Linked DNA regions of Homo sapiens: all the other regions are linked to region 2. Evidence: promoter capture Hi-C in 16 types of primary human blood cells and fetal thymus (Javierre and others, 2016). All regions are on one chromosome and are shown on one strand. The core of a region is centred on a gene start or on the middle of the fragment in contact, and the rest is flanking DNA. Distances in the headings are between cores, read along the strand shown.

The links. The method cuts DNA at HindIII sites, captures the fragments that hold promoters and counts their contacts. A CHiCAGO score of 5 or more calls a contact.
Region 1: a contact is called between a fragment that was not itself captured here and the fragment with the promoter of TGFBRAP1 in region 2, in 5 of 17 cell types (total CD4 T cells, naive CD8 T cells, non-activated CD4 T cells and 2 more). The highest score is 9.1, in total CD4 T cells.
Region 3: a contact is called between a fragment that was not itself captured here and the fragment with the promoter of TGFBRAP1 in region 2, in 4 of 17 cell types (total CD4 T cells, non-activated CD4 T cells, naive B cells and 1 more). The highest score is 7.3, in total CD4 T cells.
Region 4: a fragment that was not itself captured here is called in contact with the fragment with the promoter of TGFBRAP1 in region 2 in 8 of 17 cell types (activated CD4 T cells, naive CD8 T cells, naive CD4 T cells and 5 more); the score reaches 14.2 in activated CD4 T cells.
Region 5: a fragment that was not itself captured here is called in contact with the fragment with the promoter of TGFBRAP1 in region 2 in 2 of 17 cell types (naive CD8 T cells and total CD4 T cells); the score reaches 6.8 in naive CD8 T cells.

What each region holds. Positions count from the first base shown.
Region 1 is chr2:106,553,761-106,556,836 of GRCh38, reverse strand. No RefSeq gene overlaps it. Among named protein-coding and RNA genes, the nearest start is that of CD8B2, 68 kb to the right of the region's middle. The HindIII fragment of the contact is 2,674 bases long and covers 474-3,076 here.
Region 2 is chr2:105,327,910-105,331,266 of GRCh38, reverse strand. TGFBRAP1 (transforming growth factor beta receptor associated protein 1) reads left to right here and starts at 1,532. Exons shown (of 12, transcript NM_004257.6): 1 at 1,532-1,642. RefSeq lists a silencer at 1,218-1,647. The HindIII fragment of the contact is 18,854 bases long and covers 1-3,357 here.
Region 3 is chr2:106,529,331-106,532,541 of GRCh38, reverse strand. It overlaps a transcript of CD8B2 not described here. Among named protein-coding and RNA genes, the nearest start is that of CD8B2, 44 kb to the right of the region's middle. The HindIII fragment of the contact is 2,800 bases long and covers 58-2,857 here.
Region 4 is chr2:106,578,631-106,581,743 of GRCh38, reverse strand. No RefSeq gene overlaps it. Among named protein-coding and RNA genes, the nearest start is that of CD8B2, 93 kb to the right of the region's middle. The HindIII fragment of the contact is 1,496 bases long and covers 1,056-2,551 here.
Region 5 is chr2:106,598,856-106,602,142 of GRCh38, reverse strand. No RefSeq gene overlaps it. Among named protein-coding and RNA genes, the nearest start is that of CD8B2, 110 kb to the right of the region's middle. The HindIII fragment of the contact is 1,333 bases long and covers 1,138-2,470 here.

The DNA of each region.
Region 1 (3,076 bases), core at 561-3,060, 1.2 Mb before region 2:
ATAAAGAAACAGATACAAAGAAGTCAAAAAACTTATTCAATATTATATCCAGATTTGTCTAACTTCTAATCCCATGGTTTGAGCTAAGGATGAGATTCTCAGGATGCAACATGAATCATACAAAATAAACCATGCATTATCTCATGTAGAGCTCCTACACTATACTACAACATTTATAAATGTTATAATACTACACATTTTATAAACTATGATACCACATTTGTTAATCTTGTAAGTGTTGGTGTGTGTGTGTGTGTGTGTGTTCGTGTAGAGATGATAGAGCTACAGATAGAGTTAGAGATATGGATACAGATACACACATAGGGACAAGAGTTAAAGGATATACACCAAAATGTTTATATTGGTTATTTAATAGGGATGGAAAACTTTATATTTTTAAAAATTTTATTTTTCTGTGTTTTTCAAATGTTCCTTATTACATTCAATTTAATTCAGCAAAAATTTTTTAAGCTTTAATTATATGCCTATCACATAGTAACATATAAACAAGTATTACTCTTTAATGCAATAGAATTGTATTTCTATTTTACATCTAATTGTATGGTGGAAACACAGAAAACAATACAAGCTAGCAAAAATGAATGGATTCTCTCTTATGCAATTGGTAGCATTCGTTTACAATGCTCATCTTAATGTCTTATTCATAAGTTATGATATGATATAAATGGCTAATAATAGCAAAAGCAAGTAAATAAAATTCTACTTCTGTGTTGTCTGTTGGGAAAAAAAATTACTCTTAAAGCAGTCTTTCTGAAAAATTTCCCTAAGTCTGTGTTTCCAAATTCAGTGTCAGCAAAGGTATTTAACTCTTAGAGTGGGCAAAAAGGAGCTCATCCAGAAATAAAATTTTGATCATCCCAAATGGAGGGAGACAGAAGAGAAAAAGAATGCGAGTTAATGGATGAAGGGCAAAGCACTGCGTCTGAAATATGAGAGGTGTGGGAACACAGCATGTGGAAGCCATATCTCCATTTGTGTGTCCATCGTGTGGCACCGAGCTCTCAGGGCATCTGCATGCCTGTTCTCCAAATGAGTTCCTTCAGACCTAAGGGGAAGAAGTCCCATCTCATCAAACACACATTCACTGCTCATTATCTGCAGCAGATTACGATAGTGACCCAGATTCCAAAAACGTACTTTTTTCCGTGTTGCTCCCAGAAGTTCTTCCTAACCTGTCTCCTTGGTCTATTTTGCAAGTCAGAGTTGGAGGGCATAGAGAGGGATGCAAGGTGGGGAGTGAGAAAGCAGGCGAAAGGATAGAGGTAGGGAAGAGCCAAGGATGTGTCCTAAGGGACAGCATCTGAACCAGCAGAGGCACTCTCCTGCAGCATGTGTGAGCCTTGTCCAAGAACACCTGCAAAGCCAAGACTACCTGTTTAGAGGGCTCCAAAGTGAAAACCTGTCCACCACCTCCAGAAACCCAGCCATGGCCTGTTACAGTGGGAATTTGCCTGGCTAGCAATAAAGAGGCAATTCAGGCCTGCTAGGAGAAACAAGTGTTCCCACTCCATGTCTTCTTACAGGCAGACACACCCCAGAGAGCACTGGTTAGAAGGCTTGGTCCCTCTCCTAGCTGAGCCATGGGCTCCAGGCCAGACTCTGGCTCTTGCTCTGTTATAGAGTAAACCTCTTTGCTTCAGTTTCTCCATCTGTAAAACGAGGACATCTGACTAACCAACTACTTTCAAGATACCTTCTGGTTCTGGAGGTCTATGATTCTATAAGCACCACCAAACACATGCATGCTTCAAAGTCTTTATCATCAAATTAATGAAAACAGCTCCAAGTTCGACTGCAACTCATGCTAGTGATATGACTACTGCTTAGTCTCTCTGAGCTTCAGGTGCCTCATCTATAAAATGGGAACACTAATATCCACACTTGCAGAGTTTTGTGAAAATCAAATCAAGTAAGATTTAAATATCTAGTACAGCACCTGCTACATAGTAGGAATCCACACCTTCCCTTTGTAGTATAGTAATGTGCCACGTAACAATGAACTGCATATAGGACCATGGTCAAATAAGATTATAATGTCATATTTTTACTGTACCTTTTCTAGGCTTAGTTAGGTTTAAATACACAAATTCTTACCATTGTGTTATAATTGCCTATAGTACTCAGTACGGTCACATGCTGTAAACGTTTGTGCCTCGGAGCAATAGGACAGAGTACAGCCTGTACAGCTGAGGTGTGTAGTAGACAATACCATCTAGGTCTTTGTAAGTTCACTCTGTGATGTCCACAGAATGACAAAATTGCATTTCTGAGAATGTATCCACGTCATTAGTCAGTGCATGACTGTAAATGATTCCAGTGGTGATCGTTTACTGTCACACCAGGGTTCCTCAGCACTATTGACACTGGGGGCTGGAGAGCCCTCCGTTGTAGGGCTGTCTTGTGCCCTGTAGGATGTTCAGCAATTTCCCTGGTCTCTGCTCATTAAATGTCAGTAGGACACTCTCCCCGCATACAGTTGTGAACACTGAAAATATCTCCAGCCATTTTCCCCAGAAGGACAAAATTGCCCCCTTTGAGAACCACTGACTTATGCAGATCCCAATTGCACAAAAGAATGGGGGAAAGACACCTTGCATAAGATCATTCCTGCAGTGAGAGCCAGAGCTCAGGTGAGAACCCATCTCTTCAGAGCTCTGGTCCAGGTGTGACTGCCACTACCTCTTGGGATTTCTGGCCTCAGAGGGCAAGAAAGCAAGGGAAGGAAGAATGGAGCTAATACATTGTGCATCTTCTGTGTTCCAGAAACCATTATGGATGCCAGTTGAATAATCGTACCAACCAACTGGCAACCCAAATTCTTACCTTAAAGCAGGGGTATCCAATCTTTTGGCTTCCTTTGGCCACACTGGAAGAAGAAGAATTGTCTTGGGCCGCACGTAAAATACACTAACACTAATGATAGCTGATGAGCTTAAAAATGTCGCAAAAAACTCTCGTAATGCTTTAAGAAAAATTACGAGTTTGTGTTGGGCTGCATTCAAAGCCATCCTGGGCCAAACGGTCACGGGTTGGACAAATTTGCCTTAAGGGTATA
Region 2 (3,357 bases), core at 283-2,782:
ATTAAGTAAATTAATAGCGTCTACTTCATTGCTCAGTCACTAGCAGTTTCTGAAGTCACTGTCTGGCAGTCAGTAGATATCACCTCTGTAACTAGTCTTGTGCAGCTCTCTGTGATGTGATCTGGTAGAGGACTAAGATACAAAAGCACAAGGGTGAATTCTAGGACCACCTGAGCCAGTGATTAGTTGATGACAAGTCACATAGTCTCTGTGAGCCTGGGTAAAATGAAGAGACTGGATTTGCTCTTGTACCTTCCCAATCCCTGGCTCCACTAGCTGTTGGCCACCTTAGACTTGAAGGTCCATTCACTGCTGCTTGCCCTTGAAGCTCAATTGCTGGTCAGAGCTTTACACTCCTGGGAAGCCAGTCCCCTACCTGGAGGCTGAGCCGGTGACACTGGTTCCACTGGGTCACAGCTGAAGCACCACTGGGGATGGGGCATTTATGTGGCCATGAGTCACACTAGGGTAGGGGTAGAGGGCAAGTCACAGGAAGATTGTTGGGTTTTTTTTTTTTTTTTTTTTTTTTGGCCAGTTTCTTTTCTTTCTTTTTTTATCCCTTTGAAACAGAAGACCATGGCGTACAATCTGGTATCTGCCTTCAGGGTTGGGATAATATCTTTGTTTTACAATACTCAGAGTGGCTGGAAGAAAGCTGAGGCCACAGGTCACTAGCAGGTTCTAAAGTCTGAAAATCCCTGGGAAAATTTGACTTTTTATATGCTAATAATTGAGTACTGACAACTCTGGAGGGAGCTTTCCAATTCTTCCGTCATGAAAGTGGACTTTGTATACTAAAGAGGGGTTCATGGATTCATGGTAACCTACAATTCTTCCTTGCGGCCTGAACCAAAGGAATAGCAGCTACAGTTGGGTTTTCCTAAAAGGAGTAAGATAGTCCCAGGCCTCCCTTCTCAAATAAGTGTATCAAGCAGGTGGACTCTGCCAGTCGGGGGTCCCGGTCAATCCCTAGGGCCCTGGGGCGCCATGGGCCTCGTGGGAGGGCTGCGCATCCCAACCATGCCTTCGTCTCCTGGTGGGGCACCGGCGGTACGTCCGATCCTCCAGCCCGCGTGGTCAGGCGGCCGCGGGCCCAAGCATTTCCCAGGGCCCAAGCATTTCATTCATTTATTCATTCACGCAGCAGGTATTTCCCGGGCGCCCTCCTCCTGTGTAGGTGACAGAAACTGGGTGGCGAGCGAGCCAGGCAAAGCCCGGCTTCCCTGAAGCTCCCCGCAGCGGCGGGGGCGGAGAAGAGACCTCAGCCCCGCGGGCTCGCACAGCTGGCGCGGACCACGCTCTCGCCCGGGGCCGGCGGCCTCAGCGCCCCCCGAATGAACACCTTCCGCCCGCTGGCCGCCCCGCGAGGCGGGCCGTGTCGTGGCCCCGGTGCACGGAGGGGGACGCCGAGGCCCGGAGCAGGGCCCGTCTCGGCCTGTGCTCGGAGCCAGGCGGCAGGGCCCGCGGGCCGGCGGGCGGCGCGGAGACGGCTGCGCTCCCGCCCTCCGCCAGCGCCTGGCGGCCGCCCCACGTGACGGGAAGCGGCGGCTGCGGGGTCGGGCCAGCCCAGGAGCCGCGGGCCGGAGCGGGGCGGCGGGGCCCCAGGCCGCGGGGCGGCGCGGGACGGCGGGCGCCGGCGCCGGTGAGTGAGGAGGGCGGCGGGGCGCGGGGTGCGGGGCTCAGGGCGCGGGGCGCGTGGGGCAGGAGGGCGGGGAGCAGGAGTGGGGGGTAGGCGGCGGGGCGGGGTGGAGGGCGAGCCCGTGCGTGTGCGCTGGGGCAGGTGTAGTGGGGGCTGGAACGCGGGGTGGGGGGAGCAAGTGGCTATACACTTGGGGGCAGGTGTGCGGGTGTGCGACTTGGTAGCTGTCCCTTGTGGGGGCCGGCTAGCCTGCTGGGGTGAGCAAATAAGTGTTCACGTGTGTGTGGGATGAAGTGTGCACGGGTGTGGGGTCAAGTGTGTATGTTGTGTGTGAGGAGTGCGTGTGTGTTTAGGGCAAGGGAAGACCTGAGAGACCTCGTCCTTGATTTGGGTTTTCCGGGGAGAAGGGCCAGGAAGGACTTGCACCTCCATCCCTGGTATGGAATGGTTTTGGCGCTGTGATTGAGGTTTCTGGGAGCTCTTTGGATTTGAGAGCTCAAATTCGGGTCACACTCAGGCCTGAATTGTCCTGATCTGGAGAGTAGGCAGGGGTGTGTTGGGGAGTAGGGAAAAGTGCTGTGCTGGGCTTCCTGGCCCCTGTTTTTAGCACCAGGTCAAGGGCTGGAAGCTGTCATCCCTGTGGAATTGTTTTCTTTCCATTGCCTTCTGGAGGTGCAGGTGCAAGTTAGTCCGCCTGCCTCCCTGTGTTAAGTGTTGATATCCTTAAACACGGAAGCTGTCCGGTTGTCTGCACCTGCCGTGGCTTCTACCCAAGGACTGTTGAGTGACCCTCAGGAAGCCTCCTACCTGGCTGCTAAAAATGGGGGCTCACAGATCACACAGCAGGCCTTACTGCACGTGGACTGCACGCGCAGCTGTGGTCAAAACATGTCTGAGCAGAGTTTAATCACTGATGAAGTGCTCATGGGCAAGCACCTTGTCTATCAGGAAGGAAGGCAGCTGCGGGTGTGATTGTGGTGGCAAGTTAAGGCACTGAGAAGGTGTGCAGGGAAGATCCTACTGCGTTGTGTGTGTTGGCTTGGTTGGAGTCAGGATGAACGAATGTAGAGGGACTGTGTGGTGGCTGCTACTCTCTCATGGTGGACATGCTTCTCTCTGTTGGTCAGCCGGAAGCTGGCAGACAACTGAGAGCTCGCAGTTCCATGGTCAGTCAGAAGGAACATTTGGTCAGCTGCTTCCTTTTCTTTTTCCTTCCATTTCTGCCAGCCGAGCAGCCTCAACAGTCATTGCAGCTGCTTCTGTGATGTGTAGCAAAACGCTGCCTGGAGTACTAGAAAGTCTACTGGCTGGAATCTGCTGGAACCTGTCCATAACTAGCCTGCCCCAGGTCATCTATGAAATGGGAGTGATGCTCTGTGGTGGTAATGAATGTGGAGTGTGGGTTCAAATCCTGCCTCTGCCATTTCCTGTGACCTTTGGGCAATTTGCTGGACATTCTGAGTCTCAAATTCCTCCATCAAAATAGGGATAATATTAGAAAAGGCACATGAATTCTAATAAGAAATTGTGCCTGGAAAGGATCCGGCACAGGGTCTGGCATTTAGTAGGTGCTCAATAAATTATTGCTGACAAATATAAATGAGGATGTAGAGCCAGGTCTCCCTCAGCTCTGAAAATATGTAGTTTTATGTTTTGAGTAATTGTTAACCTAACAAATGATTTACTCTGGAGTTAGACTTGTGGGTTCTGAATTCCAA
Region 3 (3,211 bases), core at 208-2,707, 1.2 Mb before region 2:
GGGCTACTCTGCCTATGGAGCAGCCATTCTTTTATTCCATTACTTTCTTAATAAGCTTGCTTTCACTTTACTATATGGACTCGCCCCAAATTCTTTCTTGAGCAAGATCCAAAAGTCCTCTCTTGGGGTCTGGATCCGGACTCCTTTCCAGTAACACCAATATCTGTATTTGCTAGGATTCTAGCTCGCTTTAATAGAAAAAAAAATGTGTAAAGAGAATACCTTGAAGTTTACAGAACTGGACAATTGGCTTCCAAAAAATCAGGAACCAGAGCTCCAAAGCCTATCAAGGTCATGGCCATTGAATCCTCCCCTCCAACAACCAGTCGTAATGGGATTCTACTAAAGATTCAAAGGAGATACAGAAATGTGCTTTTTACACATACAAACTCCGGGAAATATTTGTGGAAGTGGATTTTGACAGGGCTCAGCTAACTGTGCTGGAACAAAATGTTAGACTGAGCTGAATCTGTGCTATGGTTGCATTTATCAAGAGGGCGGTTGGGTGTGCAATATGCACAGCTGGCTGGAGATCTGTTACTTTGCTGGGATGGCGGATGCAGACCTAGGCTGAAAGCTGGCCTGCGGCAAATGACTTCAAAAGGCCATGCATTCCTTGCTATAACGAAAATGAGGGAAATCAAAGGCCTGGGGAGACTGGAATGCTGGGCTGGATGTAGCTTGTTTGTTCTACCCACACACACACTCTGCTCCCCAGAGAGGTTCCCTTCATGTAGACCTTGAGGAAAAGGTTGGGGAAGAAAGTGCAGGACACTTTAAAGAATCTGTGCTGGCTGTTCTCACTGGACTGGAATGCCCATGGGAGAGGCTTCAGGATCGCACTGAAGAGAAGAGCCAGGGTGCAGCAGTGACCATCAGAGGGAAAGTAGCTGGGGCAATCTAATAGTGAATCCCATACATTTCCCACCCCATGACCTAACCAGGCTTGAGAGGCTCACATGGCCCTAGGGACTCAGCCTGCAGGACATCATCCTGGCCCCCTGCAGGGGCAGCATCCTGGCTAGGACCCTTAGAGCAAGAAATAGTAGGTTCCAGGACATCTTGGATAGAACTCGAGAACTCGTGTGATAGAGGACAGAAAATAAGTGCAACAAAAATAGAGGCACCTGCCCGTTTCAGCGTCTGATGTTTCAGAATTTGGGGCAATTGGATTATTGCCCAAAGGAAAAGGAAAAGCAAGTGGTGTACCTAGTTCCCACTACCACTAAAAAGGGGACCCAACACTGAGAGTATCTCTTCAGATTTGGGGGACGGTATCTACTATGTCTGAGTGTCATGAGCTAAATCACTTTCTGGATGACTCCCAAAACCTAGTCTGAAGAGCAGAGCAAATTCTGCTACTTGATCCTTTAGATGTTGTTACAGGAAAGGGGTCCTGATTCAGACCTCAAGAGAGGGTTTTTGGATTTCACGAAAGAAATAATTTAGGGTGAGTCAGTAGGGTAAAGTGAAAGCAAGTTTATTAAGGAAGTAAAGGAATAAACAATGGTTACTCCATAGACAGTGCAGCCCCGAGGGCTACTGGTTTCCTATTTTTATAGTTATTTCTTGATTATATGCTAAACAAGGGGTAGATTATTCATGCCTCCCCTTTTTAGCCCATCTAGGGTACCTTCCTGACATTGCCATGGCATTTGTAAACTGTCAAGGAGCTGGTGGGAGTGTGGCAATGAGGATGACCAGAGGTCACTCTCACCGCCTTCTTGGGTTTCGTGAGATTTAGCTGTTTCTTCACTGCAACCTGTTTTATCAGCAAGGTCTTTATGACCTGTGTCTTGTGCCAACCTCCCATCTCATCCTGTGACTTAGATGCCTTAACCATCTGGGAATGCAGCCTAGCAGGTCTCAGCCCCATCTTACCTAGCCCCTATTCAAGCACTTTGGGAGGCCGAGCTGGGTGGATCACGAGGTCAGGAGATCAAGACCATCCTGGCTAACAGGGTGAAACCCCATCTCTACTAAAAATACAAAAAAATTAGCCTGGCGTGGTAGCGGGCGCCTGTAGTCCCAGCTACTCAGGAGGCTGAGGCGGGAGAATGGCGTGAACCCGGGAGGCGGAGCTTGCAGTGAGCCGAGATCGCGCCACTGCAGTCCAGCCTGGGCGACAGCGAGACTCCATCTCCAAAACAAAAAAGCTGGAGTTGCTCCTGGTTCACACGCTTCTCACAATGTTAGGCAAAACCTCCCTCCCTGTTCCTCAAAATTTAAGTTAAATTGGCTAAAGTAGCTCATTGTCAAGGCCTATGGAATTTCAAAGCCCTCCTTCGATTTCTGGGACTGTTCAAGGTTTGCGCCCTCAAGATCTCCTCTAGTTCTGGGATCCGTCCTTCACAGGAGTGCCACTTAGTTACAATACTGAAATGTGCACTTTATACAATAGGAAGGGACTGAACTTCAGGTAACTGCTGCAGTCCTCATACCGGCAGCAGAGCCATGCTGGCATCCACTACCTTCTGTTCCTACAACCCATTCCAGTTGTGTTCACTTTCTCAGCGGGTGAAACTTCTCCATCAGGTGGGATGACCTGATCCTTCATTCTCAAGGGTATGAGTACTTCGTAGTCCCACTTATGTGGTTTTGCTATGGTTTTTCACTAACTTTGACTGCTACACCTGCAGTACTGGAAAGCACACTGAGGATCCTTGAGTTCCAGGAAACCTCATCGCTGCTTGCCCTGTGTGATGGCAAAGACAGAGCTCCCTCAGTGATCAGGATCACCCACCCCAGCCAGTGTGGGAATCTTCTTTTGAGCCTGTTCACCTGTGATGCATGGAGCTAGGTGTCAGTCCCAACTTCCAGTTCAAAGGCACCACTGACATGTCCCTTGTGGCAAGCTTGGTATCCAGTGTCAGCCAGAAGGCCATGTTAGTAGCCTAGGTGAAAACAGTAGTGACTTGGACAAAAATATTGTAATGGAGATAAAGGAAAATGGATGGATTTAAGAAGCATTAAAGAAGTAGAATTTCCAGGGCAGGTGGTAGATTAACTTGGAGAGTGAGAGAGAAGGCATCTGGACATCAAAGACATCCTCTCTCACAGCTGGCTGCACACTGGAGGAAACTTACCATTTCTGGGCATATGGTACTTGAGATAGGTCTGAGAATGGGTCCTATCTTATCAGTTACAGATGAGAAATGCTCATTAAGGGGATACCAAGGACAACTAAGAACAACCAATGCTCCATCTTCTA
Region 4 (3,113 bases), core at 554-3,053, 1.3 Mb before region 2:
TCTGTCTCTATCTTTCTGTCTCTCTCTCTGTCCCTGTCTTTCTGTCTCTCTCCCACACACACACACACACACACTCCAAACAAAGTGTAGTGAAGGAGAGCTGGATAAATTACTGCGCACATGCTGAGGGAAAAGGCAGATTGATAGACAGGGGTGGCTAAAAAGCAACCCTGCGATCCGGTTCCCAGCAAATCTGCCACTCAAGTTTCTCATCTCATCAGGGATGGGAAGGAACAGAAGGCTCCACTGCGGTGCTGGCTGTGGGCTTATACGTTGCCGATCCCTGGGGACTGGACCTAGTGCTATTCTGCAGAAGGTAATTGAAGAAACCCTACTAGGAATGAAGAAACCCAAGTGAAGGAGGGTGACAGATGGAAAGGAATGCTTCTAAGCAGTTTTCGTGCAGGGTTGTGAAAATGAAGCGTCTATAGAGGAAAAGGACATGTTTCACAGGCTCAAGGATTTGAGTTTAAGCTTCAATAAAGATGAGAAACAGAGTAGGAATTTCCCTAGCAGTTCTTTGTACGGAAATTAGCGTGAAGATCTGAAGGGCTTCGGTACTGACAGCAACTTCCAAACTGCTTCAAGCCGCTCACCATCAAAATGAGGTGAATATCCAAAACATTTCCTCCCTAGAGAGAACTTCTGACAAGATCAGGGAAATGTAAGTTTAGCGACTAAACCAGGACGCGGTGGGCAGGCTCACGGCAGCACCCTCCACTCAGTGTGGCTTCCTTCCTGCCCCTGTCATCACCTGTGAGGTGTGGGCCTTGCAGCGAGATTGGGGTATTCACCCAGTTTTCTTCCTTGAGTCTAAGTGAGGATTGCTTGGTAGACATTAGAATCCACAAGCATAAAAGGTAACGTTGCAGGGGCTGAGGAAGCCACTGCCATCCGGGGAGCCACAGGACATGGAAGCTGAGGGACAGACGGCAGAGCCCTCAGAGGAGCTGAGCTAAAGAGCTTCTAGCAAAACTGCAGTTGCTTGGGGGGACTCGGCACTAAGATTACGACAATTTAGCATTAAGTATAACCCGGATAGGAGTAATTAAGCTTAATATTGCAGAAACAGTATTTTAAAGAAAAAAGATGGACGTATGGCCCAACGAAGAATTTTTTCTGATTTGTGGATTTATGAGTGAAAGTCTTTCAACAAGGGGAAAAGAAGGGGACGGGAGGGGAGGGGAGGGGAGGAGAGGGATATAAGGCATGCTCATGAGTGGTTTCCTCTGTAGGCAGCTGGGGCCCCAACCGGCTGGGTCTCCTGGACAGTGTGGACACACCCCAGGGCTGCCTCTCCTGAAGGCAAGGATGCTGGGCACACCGGCTCTTGTTACCTGCTTTAGTGGCTGCTCCTGGTGGTGTCAACTGCCCTGCACTTCTGGCATGTTACAAGCATGAAACAGAGCAAACAAAACCCTTGGTGGGGAACCTCAGATGCCTGGAGTATAGACCTTCAGAGGGTTCTGGAAGGGCCACTCCCGAAAGCCTCTGAGCAGCAGCATCCACTATGCACCTGTGTAAGAGAGCAGGCTGCCTGGTTATTATGGGGTGCCACAATCTCCCCAGCTACCAACATACGAGATGATCCTAGAGATAACCAGAGGCACCATGGACTGGCTGGTTCACCGTTGTACAATGGATTGATTTGGCTGCATTTAAAGCTGGCCCCAGTCCGAGGAAAAAGACAGACGCCTGGCTGGCCTCTGCTGTCACCTTCAGAGCAGGGTTGTTCTGTTTTTCTAACAGCTGGTTGGATTCATCTAGATAATTTCCACTCTGCCTTTTTGTCAGCAGATCTCTTTAGCTGCGGTTTTGACCCTAGGTCGCCAGACCACTCACCAAGATGAAAAGTGGTAGTGTATTTTTCTGTCAGCCAGCCCAGAGGCTGCCAGCAGTGCCCCTCGGCCAAGGGCTTTGACCTTGGACGTTAGCGAGCAATGACCCACAGGGCAGCAAGCAAGGGGAAGTGTTGCTCTCTTGCTTCCTTCTTATTTCTCATGCTGTCTGGGAGTTTTCATAAATTTGAGCTAGCTTGAAATCATGTACATCGTGTTTATGTGCAGAAAAAAACCTACACTGTATCGATAACTTAGTTTACAGTTTACACAGATACTTTCACATTCTTTCTTTATCTGAATTCAAATCTGCCCATACACTTGTCTCTCCGTCAAGCCTAATATTTAAAGGTCAATTTACAAACAGCGTGTGTAATCTTATGAATTCTTGCCACATGGTGCCATCTGAGTCCATCTCCCAATCATCTTTGAAAATCTAAGAGAAATTCCAGATTGTTTGACTTTTAGTCTGATAATAGATGATCTCTAAACAGTTTACAACATAGTCATTTTGAGATTGAAAATATCAATCTCATTTTTTTGTTTCACAATGGCTGCTGCCTTAAAAACCAATCCAGTTTGCTGTATTTATTGTCTTATTTGCTATAAATCTAGAGCCAATTATAGCAGTTTCTCATACATTGCCCATAAAAAATGCTATACTATTTCAGCTTTTCAAGTGATGGATACTCTCATAAGAAAATTAGAAAGCTTCCAACAATGGGTCTCATAGATGACTACTACTTTGTCCTCATTTCCAAATGACACAGTCATCTAAGGAATTAAAGGAACTGGAAGTGGAGTGAGTTTTTATGTGCATGATGAAGAATGTTACTTTCAAAGTACAGATGCAACCCAACTTACACAATGGGGTTACATCCCGATAAACCCATGGTTAAGTTGAAACTATCCAAGTCAAAAATGCATTTAACACACCTAACCTATAGAATATCATAGCTTAGCCTAGCCCACCTTAAACATGCTCAGAACACGTACATTAGCCTACAGTGAGGTAACATCATCTGAAATCATAGCACCCTGTACATTATCAGCTATTTGCCCTCATGATCATATAGCTGACTGGGACATCTGGCTCATTGCCCTGCCCACCATTCTGAGTATTGTTCCACATATCCCTAGCCCCAGAAAAGATGGAAATTACAAATTTGAAGTACTATTTTTACTAAATGCATATTGCTTTTGCACCATCATAAAGTCAAAAAAGCCTAAATTGAACCACTGTAACCGTCTGTAGTTGGTAGCTGATTGGCGAGG
Region 5 (3,287 bases), core at 555-3,054, 1.3 Mb before region 2:
CTCTAGCTACAGCTGAGGCTCAAAGGGCCTCCAGTACAGCTTGTGTCTCTGTTCTGAAGGGCACAAGTCATAAGCCTTGGTGGCTTCCACATGGTGTTAAGCCTATAGTTGCACAGAATATAAGCATGAAAGAAGCTTGGCAGCTTCCCCCTAGATTTCAGAGGAGGTATGGGAAATCCTGGGTGCCCAGGCAAAAGCCAGCCATAGGGGAAGCTCCCACAGAGAGCCTCTAGTAAGGCAGTGATGAGGGGAAATGTGGGGTTGGAGTCCCCACACAGAGTCCCCACTGGGGCACTGCCTAGTGTAGCTGTGAGAAGAGGGCCACTATCTTCCAAACCCCAGAATAGAGATCCACCAACAGCTTGCACCTGGAAAAGCCAAGGCACTCAACACCAGCCGGTGAGAACAACCACAGGGGCTGACCCTGCAAAGCCTCAGGGGCAGGGCTGCCCAAGGCCTTGGGAGCCCACTTCTGACACTACTGTGCTCTGGATGTGGGATGTGAAGTCAAAGGAGATTATTTTGTAGCTTTAAGATTTAATAAATGCCCTGCTGGGTTTCCAACTTGCATGGGACTTATAGCCCCTTTCTTTAGGTGAATTTCTCCCTTTTGGAACAGGAATGTTTACCCAATGCTGGTACCTGCACTGTCTCTTGGAAGAACATAACTTGTTTCAGTTTTATAGGCTCTTAGTGGGGGAAAAAAAAAAAAATCTCCAGATGAGACTTGGGAATTAGGACTTTCAAATTAAAACTGAAACGAATTAAGACTTTGGGGAACTATTGAGAATGGATGATTATATTTTGCATTGTGAGAAGAACACGAGATTTGGCAGGAGCAGGGTGGAATGATATACTTTGGATGTTTGTCCCCTCCAAATCTCATATTTAAACGTAATCTCCAGTGTTGGAGGTGGGGCCTGGTGGGAGGTGCTTGGGTCACAGGAGTGGATCCCTCATGAATATTTGGTGTGGTCCTTGTGATCACAAGGAATTATCACTCTGAGTTCATGGGAGCACTGGTTATTTAAAACAGTGTGGCACCTCACCTCTCTCTCTCCTCTCTCTCTCTCTCATTCCTACTCTCATTATGTGACCTACCTGCCCCTGCTTCACCTTTCACCATGATGGTAAGCTTCCTTAGGTCCTCACCAGAAGCCAAGATGTTGTCATGCTTGTACATCCTGCAGAACCATTAGCAAATTAAAACTTTTATCTTTATAAATTACCTAGTCTCAGATATAGCTTTATAGTGACATAAAAATGGACTAACACTGATGCCAGTACTTCCCAAATTGATCTACAGACTCAAGGCAATAACTATTAGAGTCCTAGGGAGCTTCTTTATAGAAATTAACAAGCCAGTGTTAAAATTCATGTGGAATTTCATGGGTGGGTCCCAGAATGGCAAAAACACTCTTGCAAAAGAAGAACAAAATAGAACAATGTATACTTCTCAATTCCAAAACTTAGAATAAAGCAACAGTAATCAAGACAGTGTAGTATTAGCATGATAATAGACATGTAGATCAGTGAAATAGAATTCAGAGTCTAGAATAAACCCATACACCTATGGTTAACCGATTTTTGATGAGGGTGCCAAGGCCATTCAATTGGGAAGCAATAGTCTTTTCAACAAATGCACTGAGTCATTTGTATAGCCACCTGCAGAACAAACTTGGAGATTTACTTTATATAATATGCAAAACGTAACTTAAAATGGCTCAAAGACCTAAATGTAAGAGCCAAACCTATAAAACTCTTAAAAGAAAATAGGGAAAAATCTTCATGACATTGAATTTGGCAATAATTTTTTGGATATGACTCTACAAGCACAGGCAACAAAATATAAAATAGATAAATTGGACTTCATCAAAATGGAAAACTTATTACCTGAAAGGATACCATCAAAAAAATAAAAAGACAATTCACAAAATGAGAGAAAATATTTCCAAACCATATATCTGATCAGGGAATTGTATCTGGAGTATATACAGGATTCAAAAGAACAACTCAACAATAAAAATATTATTAAATAATCTAAGATATACTCATATAAATACTTTTAAAAATCTATAATAAAAAGAAAAAAACAGATTTAAAATGGGCAAAGGACCTGGATATACATTTCTTCAAGGAAGATGCACAAATAGCCAATAAGCATATAAAAAGATGTTCAACATCATTAGTCATCATGGAAACGCAAGTCAAAACCACAGTAAGGTATCACTTCAACTAGCACTAGGATGGCTACAATAAAGAAGTCAGATAATTACAAATGTTAGTGAGATTATGGGAAAATTGGAGCCCTCAGCACTGCTAGTGAGAACGTAAAATCGCAAAGTTGCTTTGGAAAACAATCTAGCAGTTTATCAAAAGATTAAGTAAAAAGTCACCATATGACTCAGCAATTTCACTCCCAGTCATATATCCAAAGAAAGAATTAATAGCATATGTCCACACAAAAGCTTGTACATGAATATTTGTAACAATACTACTGAAATAGACAAAAGGTGAAAACAAGCTGTGCCCATCAACAGGCGAACAGATAAACAAAATGTGGTATATCCATACAATGAAATATGATTTGGTCAAAAAAAATAAGTAAACTACTGATGTAGGCTACAATACTTATGAATCTTGAAAATGATATGCTAAGTGAGAGAAGTTGGTTGTAAAAGATGACATACTATATGATTCCATTCATGTAGAAGTCCCAAGTAAGGAGACAAAAAGGAGTTGGTGTTGCTCAGGGCTAAGATGGGGAGTATAGGGTGGTGATAACTAAAGGTCATGGGGTTTCCCTTTGAGGTGATGAAAATGTTTTAAAATTGACTGAGGTGATGGTTGTATATGTCCGCGAATATACTAAAAACCATTAAATTGTATGCTTTACTTGAATTGTATGGTATACAAATTCTATCTCAAGCTGTTAGAAAAGAATAAAAAGAATATTACGAAATCCTATGTCAATAAATTTGACAAATTCCTTGAAAGATAAAAACTATCAAATCTAGCTCAGAAATAACTTGAACACTTACGTATCTTTTAAACAAACTGGCCAGGTGCGGTGGCTCACACCTGTAATCCCAGCACTTTGGGAGGCCAAGGCAGGCAGATCACGAGGTCAGGAGATCAAGACCACCCTGGCTAACACAGTGAAACCCTGTCTCTACTAAAAATACAAAAATTAGCCAGGCATGGTGGTGGGTGCCTGTAGTCCCAGCTACTTGGGAGGCTGAGGCAGGAGAATGGCATGAACCTGGGAGGTGGAGCTGGCAGTAAGC